Linked DNA regions of Homo sapiens: region 1 is linked to region 2. Evidence: promoter capture Hi-C in 16 types of primary human blood cells and fetal thymus (Javierre and others, 2016). All regions are on one chromosome and are shown on one strand. The core of a region is centred on a gene start or on the middle of the fragment in contact, and the rest is flanking DNA. Distances in the headings are between cores, read along the strand shown.

What was found. Contacts are between HindIII fragments. The CHiCAGO score rates a contact against its expected background, and 5 or more counts as called.
Region 1: a fragment that was not itself captured here is called in contact with the fragment with the promoter of MOB3C in region 2 in 1 of 17 cell types (neutrophils); the score reaches 5.3 in neutrophils.

Annotation. Positions count from the first base shown.
Region 1 is chr1:46,254,446-46,259,074 of GRCh38, forward strand. RAD54L (RAD54 like) reads left to right here. Exons shown (of 18, transcript NM_003579.4): 4 at 4,241-4,301. Among named protein-coding and RNA genes, the nearest start is that of RAD54L, 9.0 kb to the left of the region's middle. The HindIII fragment of the contact is 3,509 bases long and covers 876-4,384 here.
Region 2 is chr1:46,614,864-46,619,271 of GRCh38, forward strand. MOB3C (MOB kinase activator 3C) reads right to left here and starts at 1,948. Exons shown (of 4, transcript NM_201403.3): 1 at 1,848-1,948. RefSeq lists an enhancer at 1,373-1,442 and a silencer at 1,843-2,122. The HindIII fragment of the contact is 4,243 bases long and covers 658-4,408 here.

The sequences.
Region 1 (4,629 bases), core at 1,380-3,879, 360 kb before region 2:
GTGGATGTGGAGTAAGGTATAACTAGAAATACACCTGGGACTCATTAGCATAGATAAATTTTATACCTGGTAAGTGGATTGGTGAATGGGTAGTCAGAAGATCTGAGGGCTAAACCCTGAGCCCTGGGGAGCACTGACTTTTTTTTTTTTTTTTTTTTCCTGAGACAGGGTCTTGCTGTGTCACCCAGGCTGGAATGCACTGGTGCGATCACGGCTCACTGCAGCCTCAATCTTAGGCTCGGGTATTGCTGCCACCTCAGCCTCTGGAGTAGCTAGGACCACAGGCGTGTGCCACCAAACCTGGCTAATTTTTAAATGATATGTAGAGACCAGGTCTCACTGTGTTGCCCAGGCAGGTTTCAAACTCCTGGGTTCTAGCAATCCTCCTGTCTTGGCCTCCCAGAGTGCTGGGATTACAGACGTGAGTCACTGCAGCCGGTTGGGAGCATTGAGCTCTGGGGGTGGGTTGAGGGTTAAAAGGCAGAGGGAAAAGAGCTCATTAGGGGACTGAAGATGAGATCCCAGAAAGGTGGAGAGTAGTGTCATGGAAATCAAAGGCAGAAAATATTTGAGGAGTGGTCAGCTTCGTCAAGTAAGATACATGTCCATTGGAATTAGGGTCATGTAGGCCATTCGTGATCTTGGCCAGAGTGGAAGGGGCAGAAGACAGGAAGAGTGGGAGGAAAGAAGGGGAGCTATATAACTTACTAGAAGTTTGCCTGTGGAGAGGAGAGATAAGCAATCAAATGAATATTTGTTTTTAAGATAGGAGATAATTAAGTCCATTTTAAATGCTGGTAAGAGCTAGTAGAGAGGGAGAGGTTGAGATACAAGAGTGATCAGTCATAACAGAGTGATTCTCTGCAGAAATGGGAAGCTTTAGCCTTGGTGGGGAGGAGGGATGCTGTCTCTCATCTATCAGAAGGAAAGATTGGTATGAATTATCAGTAACTAAATGAACAGAGAATAAGAGCATGCTCCCTCCCCTGCCCCCTGCTATAGAGACTGGTGAGTCACCAAACCAGATCCCTGAAGGTTGGCCATTCCTTTTTTTTTTTTTTTTTTTTTTTTGAGACATAGTCTTGCTCTGTGACCCAGGCTGGAGTGCAGTGGCGCGATCTCGGCTCACTGCAGCCTCTGCCTCCCAGGTTCAAGTGATTCTTGTGCCTCAGCCTCCCAAGTAGCTGGAATTATAGGTGCCCGCCCCCACACCCAGCTCAGTTTTTTGTACTTTTAGCAGAGACGGGGTTTCACCATGTTGGCAAGGCAGATCTCGAACACCTGACCTCAGGTGACCTGCCCGCCTTGGCCTCCCAAAGTGCTGGGATTACAGGCGTGCACTGTGCCCAGCAGGCCATTCCATTTTGCAGGCTGAGCCCTCAGACATTTTTGGCCAGGGGTCTCCACATTCTTCCTTACCAGTTATGCAAGCCTGTAGTTCTCCCTGCAGAACCTATGGTTCCTGTGTTCTATTGAAAGTCTTTTTAAATTTAGGGCATAAATTCTTGGCTACTCAGAGCCTCAAATCTAGCCTTCTATACTGATAATTTTGAAAATATTTCTGTTTTAGAATTGATGCCAAATTAAAAAGAAAATTAGGGTCCATCTCCTTTTCCTCTCATTTGACTTAAGAGTAGCTTTTTTTTTTCCTTTGAGGCAGGTCTTGCTGTCACCCAGGCTGGAGTGCAGTGGTGTAGTTGTAGCTCACTGCAGCCTTGAACTCCTAGGCCAAGTGATCTTCCTGCCTCAGCCTTCTGAGTAGCTGGGACCATGTGCCACAGTGCCTGGGTAATTTTTAAATTTTGTGTACGGGGTGTGTGGGGGGGTCTCACTACGTTGCCTAGGGTGGTCTCAAAATCCTGGGCTTAAGCGGTCCTCCCACCTCAGCCTCCCAAAGCACTGGGGTTATAGGCATGAGCCACTGCACTGGCCAAGGGTCCTTTTTGTTAGCATTTTTCATAATGATTATCATTGCTATTCATAGTTACAGTCATGCTAATTAAAAATAGTAAAGGCTGGGCATAATGGCTCATGCCTATAATCCCAGCACTTTGGGAGGCCAAGGTGAGAAAGATCCCTTGAGCCAGGACTTAGAGAAAGATCCCTTGAGCCAGGACTTAGAGACTGCAGTGAGGTATGATCACCACTACTGTACTCCAGCCTGGGCGACAAAATGAGACCCTGTCTTTTAAAAAAAAAAAAAGTCAATAAAAGATTTTATTCAGATGCAAAGAAATTTGCAAATAAACAAAAGCATTTGAGTTTTTTGCCAACTTTGCCTTTATGTTATGTTATTTAGTGTGATGTTGTCATGTTATTTAGTGTGATAAGGAAGTTCATTTCTACATACTTGTTTTCTGTCTTCTAATATCACAAAAAAAATTCATTACTTTTTTTAAATTTAAAGTACATTTGAGGCCAGGTGTGATGGCTCATGCCTATAATCCCAGCACTTTGGGAGGCCAAGGTGGACGGATCACTTGAGGGCAGGAGTTCAAGACCAGCCTGGCCAACATGGTGAAACCCTGTTTCTACTAAAAATATCAAAATTAGCTAGGTGTGGTGGCGTGTGCCTGTAGTCCCAGCTACTTGGGAGGCTGAGGCAGGAGAATTGCTTGAACCTGGGAGGTGGAGGTTGCAGTGAGCTGAGATTGTGCCATTGCACTCCAGCCTGGGCAACAGAGCAAGACTCCATCTCAAAAAAAAAAAAAAAAAAAACCCCAAAAAACAAATAAAGTACATTTGAATTTCTAGACATTGATGATGTGTGAAGAAATGAGTCAGAAAACAAAGGTAAAAATATCACGGCAGGCTTGCTTTTTTTCCTATTAGACTATGTTTTTTGCTAGAAGGGACATTTTTTCATTACTGCTTTTTCCACTAATATATTCCCATTAAAACTACCTTCAGGGTCTCTGCTCTTTATTTCTCTGCTCTCTTGGCTTCCACCTCTGGTTTTGTTGAGGTTCACAGGCTATCACAGTTCCGCAAAGGGCTCAGGTGTGTGTGGACCAGAACTTCCATGGGAGCTGTCAGAGTTAGCTCAGTGTTAATTTTTCTGCCTTCTCTGCCCCTGCCCCAGCCCCATAGCCCATGGAATAATGCTGGTTCAAGGCAGAAGTGCTTGTACAGAGGCTTCTTGCCTTTAGGTGGAGGAGTCACCAGTGCTACCTCTCTAGGACCCACATATGTCTACCTGCTGTCACCCTTGTCCCACTTGCTTTTTCTTAGTGTTGGGCTTAGCTTCTCTCTCATGTCCCTTTCTCATGTTCCTTCTCTTGTGCTTTACATGGCAGGAAGCTGCTGGGTCTGGGCTGATCTGCATGGCTGTACTCAGAGTGGGTGAGAGGCCACGTTGCCTACTGAGTACAAGTAAGGACCCTAGAACCAGGAAAGTCCTGCATTTGTAATGGCTTTGTGACTTGAGAAAGTGACTTAATCACTCTGAGCCTCAGTTTGCTCATTTGTAAAATGGAAACACCAGTAATATATGGACCTCATACAGCTGTTAGGATTAAATGGTAACATGAATGCAAGAGGCTTAGCTCTGTGTCTAGCATACATTGGTAGCCATCATTATTTTTATTTATATTTTTAAATATATATTTTTAAAATAGAGATGGGGTCTTGCTATATTGCCCAGGCTGGTCTCGAACTCCCAGACCTAAGTGATCCTCCTGCCTTGGCCTCCCAAAGTGTTAGGATTACAGGTGTGAGCCACCATGCCCGGCCTGGTGTTGTTAATATTATTTTATTAATACGATGGCTCCCATTTCTCCATCACTACTCTTTGATGAGCTGTTTAGTTCCCAAGGAGGCTGATGTGAGTATTAGATATATTAGACATAACTGATGTAGCCAAAAAAAAAAAAAAAAGAATTGTGAGGTGTGCTTGGGAAGGTGTAACCCTATATGACAGTGGTTAAACCCAGACATTAGAATTATCCATTATTACTCAGGTTGGCTAAGTCTGTGGTATTTGCTTTCCAAGGTGCTATACCCTAGGGAAGAGCTAGGTATGCTCACTGGCATGGTTTTTAATGAGTGAATGGTTTCCTGGGTTCTAAGCCTCGTGGTTGACTGAGGCTGGGCCCTTCTGCTATCCCTGGATATTTGTAGAACCTTACATAAAGCCTCGAAGATGGATGCTGTTGTACAAAACCTAATGTGAAGCATATCATGATATTGTCCCATAACATCTCCAGTCAGTCCTGAATCCTTGTTTCTCCTTTCTTTTTAGGAAGCATTTATTCGAAGCATTTTGTCAAAGCCTTTCAAAGTCCCCATTCCAAATTATCAAGGTAAAATGGAGGTTTTTCTGTTTTTGAAATCAGTCATATGTACGTGTGCCTGAATAAATTAAAAACCTGCTTTTGTAAATACAAGCTTAGCTGGGAATTGAAGGTGCCAGTCCAGCGGTGGCTGTGTTTGGGGTGACCCTCCTGAGGCCTGCATGAAAACTGTGTTAGCCTCAGTAAGGGCTGCCAAGACTAACTGCCCCTCATCTTCTTGGTAGAGGTGTCCCGGTGCTCAGAAAGCTCCTGGTGGGCCAAGATGGCTGATGGACCTGGGCTTCATTCAATCCAAGTGCATTCAGTAGCATCCCTTTTATGAGGCTGACTGTGTGGG
Region 2 (4,408 bases), core at 698-3,197:
AACCCACAAAGGCAGGCCAGGATGGGGGCAGTCTGGTAAAATGAGAGCAGCTTGGAGAGTAGAAACAGGCCATTCAGCAGGAACTTGTTCTCTTGAAAAAAACTCACAGATGTGAAAGGTCATCTCATCCATCCCGACTCTTCGACTTCTCACCCAAAGAAGTCCCCAGGGTGGGACCCCAGTTTCCAGAGCAAAGAGATTTCTGCGCTTCATTTGCCATCTCCATTTTAAACTCTGCTTGGGGCAAGTGCTTCCAAAATCCCTCACACTGCAATTAGGCGGGGCTCCTGGGCTCCCCACATTGCATGGCCCCCTTTATGACAGTTAGAAATAGGCCCCCACCCTGGCATTCAGCACCTTGTCCTACCTTTCCTGCCCCACTTCCCACCTCCCCACACCAACCACCCTGGGCTTCTTCCTGATTCCTGAACACGCCCCCACTCTTTTGCCTCTGCATGTTTTCTTATCCCTCCACCTGCCTGACCACACATCCTCAGATTGGCTGCTACCTCCTCCCACAGCCTCCTCTCCTGAACTCAGATCTCCTTCTCCTTGGGTAGAGGCTGCTTTTGGTCATTGCAGTCTCCACTCCATCCCCAACCCACCCCCAGCTTAGGACAAGGCCTGGCACAAAGTCAGTGTTCAGGCTTTAAGGAAAGCTTAGACTAGAATCTTAGAGTTAAAATAGCCCTGATAGATCAGCTGGCCCAACTCACTTGTACAGATGGGGAAACTGAGGCCCAGATGAGGAAACTGAGGCCTAAAAAGAGGACTTGAGGAGCCTGTGTCCACATAGCAAGTTACAAGCAGAACTGGGAACTGGGATAAGGTGGGGCTCAGCTCATGACCAAGAGTAAAAGACCATTTTCCTGCACTGGCTCATCAATGGTCTGGTGGAGACAGAGAAGAGGAGGGGAGTGGAGGGACAGTGGAAGCATCTTCTCCACCAAACAGCCCAACCTGCTTCCTGTCCCCAACACACTGACTCCGCACAGCAACTGGGGTGTCCTGACCAGTGAGCTAGAGTTCCACCTTACTCCTGTGGAACTTCAAGGCCTGGGTCTCTTTCCAGGAAAATGTAAGCTCAGGGGGTGGGTGCAGGGCAGGTGCTCTTCTAGCCACAGGGTTAACTCCCTTCACTCCCCACCCCCATGCCCTCACTGAGTTTCTATCTGTCACAGAACCTCTGTCTCTCCCTGAACCACTGCCGTTCCCCGTCCTAGCCCCCATTTCCCAGTGATGGCTATCCTTTCACTCCTGGAGTGGCAGTGCCTTGCTCGTTCCCTGGGTGCGGATCTGGGCTTCTCAAATGAAGACAGCAGGCTGACCCTACCTGTTTCTGATATTTAGCCCCCTGCTAGGCTACATCTACCACTCCTTGGGCCTGGCCCAGGATCTGGGCCAGAGGATGGCCCCAGTTTGAACCCAGAATCCATCCTGGGACTCTCTCTAGGACAGAGGTCGAAGAGAAAAAGTAGAGGCGAAGACTCCACGCTCTCCTCGCGGCGCGCAGCCACCCACGCCCACCCCCGGCTTCCCTGCAACCTCAAACCAGCTCCCAGGGCCAGGAAGGTCGTAGGACCCAGAGGAGCCCGCCTGACATTTCCGCTCCCCGAAAACACGCCCCCCAACCCCTCCCCTCTGCCCCGTACTCCCCCACCCCGACAATCCCCCCCGCAACTTTCGAAGCTCTGAGCCTCGGACGCCAGCCTCAGGACAGCGGCCAGCCTGCCTTCGGGCGGGACTCTCCTCCGGACTGTGCCACGCCAGGACGGCCGAAGAAATGAAAGTGGAAGCCAGGCGGGCGGGGTGCGCGGCGAGGCCGCAGGGGCACGGCGCACACTCACGGGTCCTCTTCTGGCCGTGGGGTCACATTCCCAGCCACAGGATCGCCTTTCTCCTGCAGGTCCCGCAGTGCCTGTTCTCTCTCCTGTCAGCCTGTCCGTCTGCCTGTCCTGCCGGCCGCGGCTGCCCTCCTGCCCCGGGCGACGCCAGCTCCGCCCCGGCCCCGCCACGCCGCGGCCACGGGGCGGGGAGGGGCGGAGAAAGGGGACTCCCCTCCACTCCAGTACACAGACGCACTCGCCCCCACCTTCCCGGAAAGTCCATATGGGGCTCCCAGCTTCCCCTTGGACAAAGGACTAACTGAGCTGCCCGCCCTCTCGGTGCTTCCTTGGACCTCCACCAAGGAGGCAGCCTCAAGTTCCCAGACAGTAAAATGGGAAAACGCTCGGCTTCTTCTGGAGCAGAAACAAGAGCTGCTAGATAAGGGTGGTTTCTTTGCCCTCCTAGAATCGTCTGCGTCACACTTGTCCCGGGACCCAATAAGGGATCGGGACCGTCCTATCCACTCCCATATCCTCAGCTCCTGGCACATAGCAGGAACTCAAAACCCACTTGATGAATGAATGAATGGGTGAGTGAAGGAATAAATGAACGCCTTGGGAATCATGAGCTGAGTCCTTCACCCCTGAGGGACAAGCCCCAGAAGAGCGCTCAAATCACAAACTTCATCTCCTCACCAGGGAGGGGGCCTGGCTCAGGTTGGGCTGATTCTCCTTGCTCCTTACCCAGAGTCACCCCATTTCTTATCTCCAGACCCTTATCCCAGCTGTTCCATTTTAGAATACCTTCTCTCCCTCCTTCCTTCTGACAAATCCAAACCACTCAAGATCTGATCTGCTCTCCCTACCACCTGGGTTCCTTCGAGGACAGACAGATATCCCACCAGCATTCAATGCACACCGTGGCCCCCAGGCCCAGGGACCAGTTGGCTGCTCTGTCTGGGATGGGAGGGAAGATTGGAGGCTTTCTAGGGTAGGAAGCCCAAAGCAGAGAGCTTAGCCATAGAAGCCACTCTGGAGGGGTGGGAGGTGAGTAGATGCGGGTAGGGGAGAGCTGGAGGCCAGAGGTGGGCATTTACCATGGCACACTGGACCTCCCTTGTGTCTGGACCTTCTGTTGCTGGATGACATGAGAACACGCTAGATCCTTAACCCAGATCATATCCTTTGCAGCAACATGGGCTGGAGCTGGAGGCCATTATCCTAAGCAGACTAACACAGGAATAGAAAACCAAATACTGCATATTCTCACTTACAAGTAGGAGCTAAACAATGAGAATACATAGATACTAGGAGGGGAACAGCAGACACTGGGGCCTGCTTGGGAGTGGAGGGCGGGAGGAGGGAGGATGAGACAAAAATACCCATCAGGTACTATGCTGCTTACCTCGGTGATGAAATTATCTGTACACCAAATCCCCATGACACAGAGTTTACTTATATAACAAACCTACACATGTACCCTTGAACCTAAAATAAAAGTAAAGAAAGAATCCCAGCTCATAGAACTGTGGGTATGTTCTTTTGTTGAGCACCAATTTTTGCCCCAGTCTAAAGTTCTCTGTATTTTTATGTCTGACTCTTAACTCTCTGCCCTGAATCCCCTATAAACAAACACTTGCTTATGGAGCAAATTAAACTATGCTTCTTTATTTATTTGATATCCTAATCAATATCTTTTATTGAGTATAACTCTCCACTCATATCAGATCAGGGGACTGGGTGATAAAGCTGACCTGGTTGCCGACCTCAGGTGCTGACAGGTCAGTAAAGGGGACAACACACAGAGATACACAAGGTCACAGCTCAGTCACCCAGAAGTGAGAATGTGGTTGTGGACTGACGGACTTTGTAAGAGTCGGGGTATTTGCAGGAAGCACATGGAACACCCAGAATGGGTATGTTTAATGAAGACATTATTTACAGGTATGGTCAAGGTGTAGGGAAACCACACAGTGTATCACCAAAGGGCTCACAAGAGCAGAGGCTGTCAACCCCAGGCTGCAGGAGTGTGGGGAAGGAATGGTGAAAGTGGGAGCTATGAGGAGGGCGCTGCTGTGGCCTAAGGTGGAGGGGCATACCCAGCTCACAGCAATCATACAGGGAAGGACAGGGGGCAAGTAAGAGGCCTCACTCTCCTCCCTCTCTCCCTCCGTCTGATCTCTGGCCAGGTTTCCCCCACTAGCTGAATCCTCCCAGAAGCTAAGAACAAGGGAACCTGTTGCTGCAGCCCATAGACGTCAGCCTCCTAGGGCGTAGAAATGGGTAGAGGGTGGAGAGCCATCTGAGGAGCCATGTGGGGTCAGGGCTGACTTCATAGGGGAAATGATTTGGAAACTGCTTGTGTTTTCCTTATCATTCAGTTCTAAATAGTTCATAAATTTCAGTGTAATTTCCTCTTTAACTCTTGAATGATTTCAAAGTATGTTTTTCAGTTTCTCAGCCTATGGGAGGTTTATGTTTTTCTTGTTGAGTTCTAATTATATTGCATTGTGGTCAGAGATCATGGTCTGGAAGATTCTTCAGAATTTGATGTGACTTCCTCTGCAGAGGCTTTGTGCAGG